Regions from separate parts of the Homo sapiens genome. Here regions 1 and 2 are each linked to region 3. The links are contacts of gene promoters, found by promoter capture Hi-C in blood cells and fetal thymus (Javierre and others, 2016). All regions are on one chromosome and are shown on one strand. The core of a region is centred on a gene start or on the middle of the fragment in contact, and the rest is flanking DNA. Distances in the headings are between cores, read along the strand shown.

Region 1 (4,187 bases), core at 1,523-4,022, 320 kb before region 3:
ATGAGTTTTAGAACTGATGGATTTTGGTCATATTTCATAGCTTATAAAGGATTTTTTTTTTCTTTCTTGAGATGGAGTCTCACTCTGTCGCCCAGGCTGGAGTGCAGTGGCGCGATCTCGACTCACTGCAACCTTTGCCTCCCAGGTTCAAGCAATTCTCTGCCTCAGCCTCCCGAGTAGCTGGGACTACAGGTGCATGCCAACATGCCCAGCTAATTTTTTGTATTTTTAGTAGAGACGGGGTTTCACCATGTTAGCCAGGATGGTCTCGATTTCCTGCCCAGCCTATAAAGGATTTTTTTATAGACACTATCCCATTAGGTACTCACTACAAACCTGCTGGGGGTAATATCACTGCTATTTTCCATTCCGTGAAACTGCACTCAGAGAGGTCAAGTGACTTTCCCAAGGTCGCTAAGCTACTAAACAGCCAAAGTGGAACTCAACCCCAGGTCTGCCTGGTTGCAGAACCAGGAGACCACCAGGTCTCCCTGACACTTTTGTGACTCCTGGTCCATCTTTTTACCAAACATGGACCTCGCCCATCTTTGTTTGCCTCCCACTTCAAAACAAGGATCCCAACCAACTCCACCTCCCTCTGCTCCCACCCACCCATATGCCTGGTCTTGAGATTTCTGTTCCCAGGAGCTTTCTTCCCTTCCAGGCAAAACAGCCTTCCTTGGTGACCACAGGCAGATCGTATGGTCACCCAATCATTCCCAGCTCCCCTCAAGGCTACTGCCATGGTGAGCACTACTCAAACCTGGGTCCCTACCAAGGATTCTATTTTGAAGGAGCCAAGCCTTTGTCCCCCAGAATACCTTAAATTAGACCTATTTGATAATGGTTTGTGTGATAGTTTCCTCATGTATATGTTCCCTCATGAACATAGGGGTTCACACTTGGATTAATGCTCTGAGTTCCTACCTTGAAATTCTTAATAATTTTGAACAAAGGACCCCACGTGTTCATTTTGCACTCAGCCCTACAAATGACGTAGCTGGCCCTGGTGAGAATGGGCCCGCCACACTTAAAAGTATCTGAGCAAGAAGTCGGACTTGTTGCCCCATTCCTGGGACTCCTGAGGTCAGGAACTGTCCTGGTCACCTCTGTATGCTCTGGGAACAGGCAGTGCTCAGTTCCCTAAGCAGAGGGACTCCTCAGTAGGCACTGAATGAAGTGTGTGTGTGTGTGTGTGTGTGTGTGTGTGTGTGTGTGTGTGTCCATGCACACACAAGTCAGCCTATGTTCTTTCAGTTGCAAGGGCTAGAAATCCAGTTCAAAGTACACAAAACTCAGAGGGGGAATTTATTCAACCCTTGGATTGAAAAGTGTAAGAGGTTGATGAACTTCAGGCTCAGCTGGATCCAGAGACTCAATTACTGTCACCAGGCCACTAGCTCTTGGCTCTGCTTTCTCCACCATTAGCTTTATTCTCAGGCAGGGCCTCCTCTCAAGCCCCAAAAGCACCAGACTGACATACCACTGGCTCAGCAAGCTTTTCATGGAAAGGTCCCACCAAAGCCAAGCCTCAGTCCCTGCCCACCTCTGTACCAATCACCAAGCCAGGGGCTATGATATTCTCATTAACCAGATTCCAGTCACAGGCCCACCTCTGAACCAATCATTGGTCCTGGCAGCTGTGATACTCTCACTGGCAGGCCTGGGTCACATGCTCACCCCTGAACCAATCCTCACTGGCCCTCGCGGCTGTGACACTCTCATTGGCAGGCTTAGGTCATGTGGGGAGAGGAGGCTCTCTAAGTGGAAGTCAAGAGGCTGTTGCTAGAGAAAGTGTTTATTTGGTGCCCAATGGGCAGAAATAACTAGTAACATCAAGGCTTCTCTCTGCCTATGTCCCAAGATGGTCACTTGGGTCTGAAAAGCCTGAGAAACCTGCTGACGCAGAAGAGCAGCCTTGGAAACCTAGCAAAAAGGGAAGGCCTGGGACATACCAAGAGTCCAGACAACCAAAAGGCCCACAGGAGGGGTCAGCAGGACCGGGGCAGATCAGACAGGTGCCAGAGGCAGGCGACCACTCTGCACAGTTACCACCAGAGGGCAGCTGGCCAGGAGGCAGGGTAAACAGGAAGAGGTCAAGTAGCCTTGGGGAAACTCTGTACCTTGCCTGAGGCATGGCAGATAATAACACTGACTACTCACCCTTATTGAGCCTGGCCCTGTCCTAAGCATTTTTATGCATCAACTCAATGAATTATCACCAATGAGATTGGTACATTTATAACCCCATTTTACAGATGAGGAAGCCAAGGCTTTCAAGTAACGAGCCCAAAGTGTCATACGGCAGAAAGGGGGCAAGTCACGCGTCTATTCCACCAAACCCTGAGCCTCCTGAGGTTAGGGGCTGTGTCTTGTTTGTATCTGAAGTCCCTGTGGACCCTAACAATCACTGTGCTTAATGGATATCTGGTGAAGTGAAAGCCTGGGGCAGGGGGCGCTGTCACTGTGTTCTCCACCCTCCCCACCCTCCCCATCCCAGGAGGAAATTACCAGGCTCAGTTCAGGCAATACCCCTTCCAGGTGTGCTGACCTTGGAAGATGATTCTTAGACCTTGCCCTTGCTCTGTTGTAATGGACTCTCAGGCACTACAGTACTCACATCAGTAGAAGAGAGAGTTTGAGATTTTGCAAAGGCTTGACAACTCCAAAGTCTCATGGTGTAGGTCACTTATTTTTGTTTGAGGCGGTCTTGCTCTGTTGCCCAGACTGGAGCACAGTGGCACAATCTTGGCTCACTGAGACCCCCACCTCCAGGGTTCAAGCAATTCTTGTGCCTCAGCGTCCCAAGAAGCTGGGATTACAGGCATGTGCCACCATGCCTGGCTAATTTTTGTATTTTTAGTAGAGACAGAGTTTCCCCGTGTTGGCCAGGCTGATCTCCAACTCCCGGCCTCCAGTAATCCACCAACCTAGGCCTCCCAAAGTGCTGGGATTACAGGTGTGGGCCACTGCAGCCGGCCTGTAGGTCACTATTTATGCCTCTCCCAGGAGTAGCTGGCTGTGCAGTTGGGGGGAAGAGGAAGAACATATTTAATGTGAATTCATTCATCATCCTCCACTGGGCTCCCATGGTGGGCCAAATACCATGTTGAGTGCCTTGAGGGGGACAGAGGGAAGCATGACAAAACCTCCTCTCTCCAATCCCCTCCTGGGAGGAGAAATAAGTCACTGCCAGAAGGAAGAACACAGAAGGAAGTCCTGCCTTCCACAAGAGAGGACTTCAACCGTCTAATCATTTGGGCAACAAAAATGTATTAGGTACATGTCAAGTGCCAGTGAACAAAACAGAATAGACTCAGCTCTTGCCCTCAGGAAGTTCTCAGTCTTATGGGAAGGCAGACAATAGACAAATAAATACGGAATTGCAAATGTGATGTGTTTTATCAGAAACAGAAAAACCACAGGGTGCTATAAGAGAAACTAAAAGAGGTCCGGGTGCAGTGGCTCACGCCTGTAATCCCAGCACTCTGGGAGGCCGAGGCAGGTGGATAACCTGAGGTCAGGAGTTCAAGACCAGCCTGGCCAACATGGCGAAACCCCGTCTCTACCAAAAACACAAAAAATTAGCTGGGTGTGGTGGTGAGCACCTGTAATCTCAGCTACTCGGGAGGCTGGGGCAGGAGAATCCCTTGAAACTAGGAAGTGGAGGTTGCAGTGATCTGAGATCTCGCACCTGAACTCCAGCCTGGGCGACAAAAGCAAAACTCCATCTCAAAATATATATATAAATAAAGACAGAAACTAAAAGGGGACTTGTTGGAGCAGTTTAGGGTTGCCTTTCTGAGGTGGTGAGAGATGAGAAGAGGCCAGCCATATGAAGAGTGTGGGAACAGCATTCCAGAATAAGGGAATAGCATGTGTGAAAGGCCTGCATGGAGGAAGAGTGTGGCATGTTCAAGGGACTAAGATTAGGCAAATTATGTCTGGAGATTAGTGGGTAGAAGTAGGCAGTGGCAGAAATCGGGGTCAGAGAAGAGCACGAGGTCAGGTTACACTGAGCCTTGTAGGCTTAGGAAAAAAGCTTGGGCTTGATCTGAGATGGGAGACCCCCCAAAGGGTTATGAACAGGACGATGATGTGGCCTAATCCAATCTATAATCTATGTTTTTGTTTTTATTTTTGTAACGTACCACCACCCACAGAAAAATCCATGTGTTTTGTTTTTA
Region 2 (4,267 bases), core at 1,254-3,753, 490 kb before region 3:
CATACAGTTGCCTACACATGCTGTTTCCTCATCTGTCATTCACTTTTAAAATACATCACCTTTTTGAAAAATACAAAAAGTAGCACATGCTCATTTTTTGTAAAATCAAACAACCTAAAAATGTACAAAATGAAAAGCAAAATTCTCCATTCCTCAGGGAAATAGTCCTTGACAGTGTACCCTTCCAGATCTTTCTCTATGCACCTGCAGATACACAGTGACACAGGCCTGAATAGACTTTTTCACACTGTAAGAAACAGGACCATGGCCTATGAATGTTTTGCAGTTGCTTTGCTCATTCAGCAGCGTCTCAGGGTCTCTTTCCTGTCAGCAAGAGAGGCCCTTACTCGCTGGGCTTTGACCAGTTGCAGAGAGCTCAATGAGAAGTCCACACCACTGTTACCTTGTACCCTAGTGATGGATGTTTGAGTTGTCAAAAACTTTTCATTCTTCCAAATGCAGCCATGAATGTTCTTGTAAGTATGTGCTTCTGCTCCCCTGCACATATTTCTTAGTCCCTTCGTGAGCCACCCAAGTCTCACCTCTGCTGTCACTTCACCAAGACAGTTCCTGCCAGACCCAACTGTGACCGCCAGGATCCTAAACCCAAGGGACACGTCTCAGTCCTTTTCTATAACTCCACTCTCTCTGCAAGAGACCACCTACTCTCCGGTAGACTGTGTGGATGGCCCCCAGTGAATCCCACTTCCCAGTATTTATGCCCCTGTGTAGTTCCTTCCCCTAAATCTAGGCTGGACCTGTGACTTGCTTTAATGAAGAGAATGTGTTGTTGCTAATTCCAGGCCTAAACCTTAAAGAGTCCTGGCCGTTTTTGCTTCTATACTCTTGGGAAAGACAGCCACCATGTAAATCTGATTACCCTGAGACTGCCATACTGTGAGGAAGCCCAAGCTACTCATGAGGTGAGGCCAACTAGAAGAGAACTGAAGCCCCAGACATGTCACTTATTTGGAGCTGCTGCAGTCAGACCCTTGCTGTTAGAGCCACCCTAACTGTGCTACATGGAGCCACAGACAAGTTGACCCTCCCAGGCTTGGTCCAAAGTGCATACTCTTAAGCAAGTCACAAAGTGATCAAGTCACTAATCTTTGGACTTTTTTTTTTTTTTTACAGCAGTAGAAACAAAGCCTTCTCCTTTCCTTTAATGCATTTTTGAGAGGAGGAAGCAGAAGGCAGGAGAGGTCATAATAGATACCTCATAGCTAAGCTGGAGGCACCCCCAGGCTCAGGGTTCCCAGCGCAGCATTGTGTCCAACCCCTGATGACTGAGCCATGTCTGTGTTTCTCCTGGGATGAAGCTGCTGCTGTTGGCTTCTCAGGGGAGAAGCCATGGGCCCCCCCTCCATGGGACTGCTCATCCTCTTCATTCCCTAAGCAAAGGGAGTGAGCCAGCAGCAAGCACCCACAGCATCCCTGGGAGCACTGACCCAGGCCCAAAAGTCAACAAACCAAACAGCTCAGAAAGCACAGAGAGGTCAGGAAAGTTGCCCTAGGTCACACTGCTAGTGAGAAGTAGAGCCAGGGCTCAAAACCAGGCATTCAGGCTCAGGGCCTGCACCAGTGACCCACACCAGCGTTTTTCTAATACTCTGATTATGACCTATAGTAAGAATTATATTTTACAATATGCCTCTGCTGTAGATAGATAGATAGATAGATAGATAGATAGATAGATAGATGGGTTTGGGTATAGGTGTGTGTAAAGTGTGTGTATACATTTTTTTTAACTAGAACAAAAAATTACACAAAACAATATTTACTCTTACTATATATAATGTTTTCTCATATTTTTACTCTATTTCATTTTGGTCACTAAATTGATGTCATGAACCATGAATGGGGCTGAGACATACAGTTGAAAAAAAAAAAAAAACTCGCCTAAACTGATTTAAGATGGCTCTAAAATCACACTGAGTGATCTGAATTTGAATCTTGCTGAAGCAAGATTCCACTTCCAAGTTAAGTGACCTTGGGCAATATGGTTGACTTCTTTAAAGCCTCAGTTTCCCTATGGGTAAGATGGGCATAATAATAACAGCGGCCTCATAACAGTGCTCTGAGAATCCAGCACTATGAACAGTGCTTGGCCCAGAGCCTGGCACACAGCAGACACGCAGCAAGCAGCAGCTACGCTGTTACCACCTCCTCCTCGGGCTGCAGCTCCCAGACTCAGCACGGGGCTATGCACACAGTGGGCAGCTCGCGGGCACACTGAGCCTGCAGCCACTGAGAAAGCAGGCACGTGCCCAGGACCAGCTGAGGCAGTGGGTGCCTTTGGACTTTCCAGGGCAGGGAGGAAGCAGAGAAAGTCCCCAGTGCCCGCTGAAAAGGCAACTTTGTTCCTGGATTATAGTAGTTCTCTTCAATCATCTTTTTGCCTTTGAAGGGGGAAAGAAGGGTAAAACAACAAAGTCAGGGTCAAAAACTGTCCTGGAACAAGGCTCCCTCTGGAAACCAGGCATGGAATGGGCATGGCACCACACACCAGCACCCCCAAACCCACTCACTGGAGCCACCGCAAGCCGAGGCCTCTGAGTGAGGGGCCCACCAGCCCACGCAGCCTTCTGAAGTTAGAAAAACATCCTCCGGCCTGAGCCCATTAGGGAGGCTGTGGCCTGAGGGAAGACAGCCCCATCCTGCTAACAGGGTCCTTTTATGCTCTGCCTCTCCCCTCCTCAGGACCCCAGCTCTATGCTCAAGGCCAGAAGGCTTGGGCAGCCCAGCAGGCCAGCCAATCCGCTCCAGGGTGACACTATTTCTTGTGACTGAGAGGTTCTCCTCCCTACCTCTTCCAACCTGACCAGAAAGCTGGAGTCCACAGACACCAGTAACACTTCATGGAAGACTTGCGGCAAGGAGACAAGGCCTCATGACGGGATGCAACATACAGTGGTACCACCCAGCCCAGCAGGCACTGCCCACTCCCTGCTGCTGCACCACATAGTTCTGCTCTAACACCTCAGAGACTGGAATGTGGTTCCAAGTCAGACACCGAGAAGGAGGCTGAACACTTTCTCTGTGCACCAACCCTGCATGCCTCTTGCCCTTTGCACATCCCGTGCCTTCTGCCTGGAATATTTTTAATAAACCTTTCCCCACCTAGCTATTTCCTATTTATTCTTTGGGTCTTAACGACTTACGCATCACTCCCTAATCTGAAGTAGAATCCTCCGTTATTCTCCTTCCCCATCCTTTTCCTTCACTGCACTTAGCACACTGGTACCACACTGAGCACACATCCAGGTGATCACTAGCAAACAACACTGGCAAGCTGCAAAAGAAGGGGTGACATCTCCTTTATTCTTTAACTTGCTGAAATGAACCCATTTCTACCCTTAAAACAACCCAATGAGGTAGGAACCATTACTCTACCCATTCCACAGATGTGAAAACTGAGAATCAGAGATGAGCCATCACTTGGCCCAAGGCCACCGAGCTGGGGAGAAGTGCAGCTGGGACTCAGACCCAGGAAGTCTGATTCTGCAAGTTCTAAGCACACCTCTGGCACCTTCTATGGGCACATGCTGGTCTTCAGCATAAAGTCTCCCAGCCCACATCTTTGTTTTGTTGTTTGTTTGTTTGTTTGTTTGTTTGAGACAGAGTTTCACTCTTGTCACCCAGGCTGGAGTGCAATGGCACGATCTTGGCTCACTGCAACCTCCATCTCCCGGGTTCAAGGAATTCTCCTGCTTCAGCCTCCCAAGTAGCTGGGATTACAGGTGCCTGCCACCATGCCCGGCTATTTTTTTTTTCTTTCTTTTCTTTCTTTTTTTTTTTTTTTTTGTATTTTTAGCAGAGACGGGGTTTCGTCATGTTGGCCAGGCTGGTCTCAAACTCCTGACCTCAGGTGATCCACCAACCTCGGCCTCCACCAACCTCGGCCTCCCATCCCAGCCCACATCTTTACTTACCCTTCCTGTGCCTCCCACATTGCTCTCCCACCAGACTGAAATACACTGTGCACAGCTTCCTGGCAATGAGCCTTTGCTTGGCCTGCACTCTCTGCCTTGGATGCAGCCTGCATCCAGCTCTCCCTGGCTGGGCTAGTGACTCTAATTTGCTGGGCCTGCCTCCTCATCTATGCGATAGCGGAATAATACCTAAGGCAGTTGTGAGGATTCTACAAGAGAATGCATGGAAAGTATTAGGCACAATGTTGAGTCCATATGATACTCACTCGTGTGTCCTTTTATCACTAACATACTGCTTCTCTACCACCACCACCATCAGAATCTTAAAGGTCTAA
Region 3 (4,376 bases), core at 864-3,363:
CTCCCTAAAGGAAGAAGAGCGTCTATCCCCCCTCCATCAACTGGTGAATGCCCATTCATTCCTCCGAGCTCACCTCAAGCACCACTCACTCAGTCTTCTTCCCTGAACCCTTTGTTTGTACCCTCTTTTAGCACCCTTTGTCATTACCATTCATTGTAATCATACACTTATGTAACTGTTTGGTTAATGCTTGTCTCCCTCAATACACTTTAAGATTTCTTAAGGAGAGACATTGCCTTGCTCATTACCCCATGCCCACAGCTTAGCTCAGTGTCTGGCACACAGTTGGCACTTTATACATATTTGCTATATCAGTGAATGAAATATAAATAACAAACAGAGACAGAGCTGTAAGAACTACAAATACTAACCTCTACTCTTGCCCCCTCTGCAGTCCATTCTCTGCACAACCAGCAGAGTGGTCTTCACAAAATGTGTTGCAGCATGTCACTTCCCTGCTTAGAGTTAAGTCCTCAGCCCTACACCATCGTACAGCTCATCCCTCTCTCCAGCCTCACTTCCTGTAATTACCCACCCCTGCTCTTCTCAGCCACCTACCTACCCTCTCTGCTGTTTAACCACGTCAAGCTGCCTGCTGCTTCGCTTCTTTGCTGTTGCTGCTCCCTTTGTGGGGAATATTCTTCCCCCTATTTTCCCATGCCTCCTGGCTCTCTCACCCTGCACATCTCCTTTCACAAGTCATCTAAAGAGCACCTTTTTTTTTTTTTGAGACAGGGTCTTGTTCTATCACCCAGGCTGGAGTGCAGTGGTGTGATCATAGCTCACTGCAGCCTCGAACTCCTGGGCTCAAGCGATTCTCCTACCTCAGCCTCCTGAGTAGCTGGGATTACAGGCACCCACCACCATGCCCGACTAATTGTTTATAATTTTTCTACAGACGGGGTCTTGCTATGTTGCCCAGGTTGGCCTTGGACTCCTGGCCTCCAGTGATCCTCCTTCCTTGGCCTCCCAAAGCAATGGGATTACAGGTGTGTGCCACCGCGCCCGGCCCAAGAGCACCCAATTCAAACTTCCCACCCCCAACTCATCATCATCTCGTTTTCCCACAGCAATTCTCACTATTTAATATTATGTTTTACCTTTTTACTAGCTTCCTGTCTGTCTCCCCATCAACATGACTTGTGCCAAGACAGGGATCTTGGCTGTCAACAGATCTCGCTCAAAAGTCTTGGCTGCTCAAAGTCCCCTGCATCTAGAACGATTCCTGACACATGAACTGAAGAGTTCATCCAAGCAAGGGACCCTAAGGAGGGCTTTTGGAGAGTGTAAAACGTGCGCAAGGCGTGAGGGCAGGACGCCTGAGCAGGTGGACGCTGCAGGTGAAGCAGCCAGGTGGACAGATGAGATGCGGGGATACTGGGCTTCTCCGGAGCCTGGAGACTGGCTTCAAATCTCTGCAAACGGGAGACCGGGCCAGTGCCTGATGGCACACAGAAGGCGCTGGGTGACCGCTGCGACCGCCCGCAGCCCAGACGCGGGGGAGGCCAGCGGTGGGCACCGCCCCGCACCCTTCCTGGCTCACCTCAGCGCGCCGGCTGCAGTCTCCCTGACGGCCAGGCTGGGGTCTAGCAGCAGCGGCCCGAGGCGGCGCACGGCGTCTCGTCGCGCCAGGCCCGGGAGTGCCGGCCGCTGCTGCACCAGCCGGGCCAGCCCTGCGCAGGCGCACTCGCGGACCTCGGCGCTCGGGTGCTGGAGCTGCGGATGAGAGCGAAAAGGGTCAGAAGGCGCGCAATGCGCACGCGCGCGGGGCAACCTCGTCTCGCCTCCCGGCCCGACGGAGCCCTCGCCTCACCTTTTCCAGCAGCTCCGCCGCCGGCCCGTCGTCCTCCTCGCCTCCGGTCCCATTCGCCGCCGCAGCCGCCTCGGCCTGACAGTCGCCCGTAGGGGAGAACTGAGGTCGCTTGAAGCGCTTCGTCCGGCTCTTGCCCATGGTGACGTGCGCTGGGCGGACAGACCACCGAGAGAGGAGGGCAACAGCAGGCGGTGGAGGCTGCCGCGCCGTTAACAAGGTCCGTTGCTGCTGCTCAGCTGGGCCGGCTGACGGCTGCAGCACACATGGGCAAGCCGTGCGCAGGCGCACGGCGCGTCGTCTGCCGGGTCGGGGTTGGGGCGGGGCGGGGTGGGGGGAACTGGCGCACGGAGCGCGCAGGCGTGGAAGAGGGCATAGGCGGGGCCAGCTTCGGCAAAGGGGCGGAGCCTTGTGGGTTTACCGGGTAAGTAGGAGGTTGGACTAGAATAGTAACGCCGACCCGGGCGAGAGGATCACTTGAGGCCAGAAGTTCGAGACCATCTTGGGCAACATAGGAAAACACTCCACTCCCTGTCCTCCCCACCAAAAAAATTAAAAATTATCTGGGCATAGTGGCGTGTGTGTGTAGTCCCAGCTACTTGGGACGTTGAAGCCGGAGGATCACTTGACCCCAGGAGTTTGAGGCTGAGGTGAGCCGTGATCCTGCTACTGCACTCCATCCTGGGCGACAGAGCGAGACCCTGTCTCAATCAATCAATCAAGCAACCAATAAGTTAGTAACACCGGCTACAAATAATCAAATGTGATTAAGAATACCTAACTTGCAAGGTTATTGTAAGTTCTGTAAAGTTCATAAAGTTCTGTAAAGTGCCTAACACCAAGCCTGATATATAGCAGGTACTCAAAAAGCATTAACCACGATTTTATTTTGTGTCCCCAGCACCTCCCATAGCTCCTGTCGTAGACAGAGACTAGTTAATGTTTTGGAACGAATGTGTGTCTATATTTGATAAAACAGAATCGCTTAAGAACCTAATCTCCCTGCCTTAGTTTCCTCATCAGTGAAGTGGGGACATCGATAGTATATACCTCATGGAGTTGTTACGAAGACTAAATGTGTTCATATGTTTAAGGTGCTAAGAACAGAGACTGGCAGATACTAAGCACTATGTAAATGTTTGGAAACGTATTTAACAAAGAGATTCTTTTGCAGATATTTGTTGAGTACTAGGTACAGTGCTGGGCATTGGAATAAAGCAGTAATCAAGACAGTTTGGTTCCTGTCCTCTCTCCCTGTCCTTATGGAATTTACAGTCCAGGGAGAGATCTGTTGAATATATAATTATATGAATAACTTTGGTTATAATTGTGGTAAATACTAAGCAGAGGGAAAAGTACAGGAGAATCTTAGGTGGTCTTTATAATTAGACATGTAACGAGTGAGTACTCAATATATGCATAGCTTTGGGTCAATTTTCTTTTTTTCTTTTTGTTTTTGAAACAGAGTCTCACTCTGCTGTCCAGGCTGGAGTGCAATGGTGCGATCTCGGCTTATTGTAACCTCTGCCTTGGAGTTCAAGCAGTCCTCCTGCCTTAGCCTCCTAAGTAGCTGAGATTACAGGTATGTGCCACCATGCCCAGCTATTTTTTTTTTATTATTATTTTTAGGAGAGACGGGGTTTTACCACGTTGGTCAGGCTGGTCTCGAACTCTTGATCTCAAATGATCTGCCTGCCTCAGCCTCCCAAAGTGCTAGTATTACAGGTATGAGCCACCACGCCCAGGCTCAGGTCAACATTCTACTGGAGAAAATTTCCATTCCATGGTAACCCTACTGTCAAAGAGTTGACTGTCCAGTAAGGGAAATTAATTACTATGGCAAATTTTAGAGAGTAACAGAAGTGTAGCTCATGTTGCATTTGGGCCTATCAAAGATCAATCTTGGGCTGGGCACTGTGGCTCACACCTGTAATCCCACCACTTTGGGAAGCCAAGGTGAGCAGATCACCTGAGGTCTGGAGTTCAAGACCAGCCTGGCCAACATAGCGAAACCCCATCTCTACTAAAAATACAAAAATTAGCCAGGCATGGTGGCATGTGCCTGTAGTCCCAGCTACTTGGAGGCTGAGCCAGGAGAATCTCTTGAACCTGGGAGGCAAAGGTTGCAGTGAGCCGAGATCACGCCACTGCACTCCAGCTTGGGTGACAGAGCGAGACTCCGTCTCAAAAAAAAAAAAAAAAAAAAAATCAACCTTGGAGCCACTAAATATATGTTGGTGGGTTTTACTTCCTGTATATTTTATCAGGCCATCGATCTGCCTGCCACCCACCTAGTCCAGGCAACCGTCTTTTTGTTGTTGTTTTTTTTGAGATGGAGTCTCTTTCTCGTTGCTCAGGCTGGAGTGCAATGGCATGATCTCGGCTCACTGAAACCTCTGCCTCTTGGGTTCAAGTGATTTTCCTGCCTCAGCCTCCTGAGTAGCTGGGATTACAGGTGCATGCCACCACGCCCAGCTAAATTGTATTTTTAGTAGAGATGGGGTTTCACCATGTTGGCCAGGCTAGTCTCGAACTCCTAACCTCAGGTGATCCACCAGTCTCGGCT

What was found. Contacts are between HindIII fragments. The CHiCAGO score rates a contact against its expected background, and 5 or more counts as called.
Region 1: a fragment that was not itself captured here is called in contact with the fragment with the promoter of HEATR3 in region 3 in 1 of 17 cell types (neutrophils); the score reaches 6.4 in neutrophils.
Region 2: a contact is called between a fragment that was not itself captured here and the fragment with the promoter of HEATR3 in region 3, in 4 of 17 cell types (total CD4 T cells, activated CD4 T cells, naive CD4 T cells and 1 more). The highest score is 6.3, in total CD4 T cells.

What each region holds. Positions count from the first base shown.
Region 1 is chr16:50,380,134-50,384,320 of GRCh38, reverse strand. No RefSeq gene overlaps it. Among named protein-coding and RNA genes, the nearest start is that of LINC02178, 13 kb to the left of the region's middle. The HindIII fragment of the contact is 2,544 bases long and covers 1,501-4,044 here.
Region 2 is chr16:50,558,257-50,562,523 of GRCh38, reverse strand. All of the region lies in intron 3 of NKD1 (NKD inhibitor of Wnt signaling pathway 1), which reads right to left. Among named protein-coding and RNA genes, the nearest start is that of NKD1, 12 kb to the right of the region's middle. The HindIII fragment of the contact is 5,014 bases long and covers 1-4,267 here.
Region 3 is chr16:50,063,707-50,068,082 of GRCh38, reverse strand. It overlaps HEATR3 (HEAT repeat containing 3), which reads right to left and starts at 2,113. Exons shown (of 15, transcript NM_182922.4): 1 at 1,814-2,113; 2 at 1,544-1,716. The coding sequence starts at 1,951. It overlaps HEATR3-AS1 (HEATR3 antisense RNA 1), which reads left to right and starts at 1,759. Exons shown (of 3, transcript NR_186390.1): 1 at 1,759-2,030; 2 at 3,276-3,392. RefSeq lists silencers at 1,391-1,650, 1,731-1,780, 2,111-2,160 and an enhancer at 2,011-2,305. The HindIII fragment of the contact is 22,013 bases long and covers 1-4,376 here.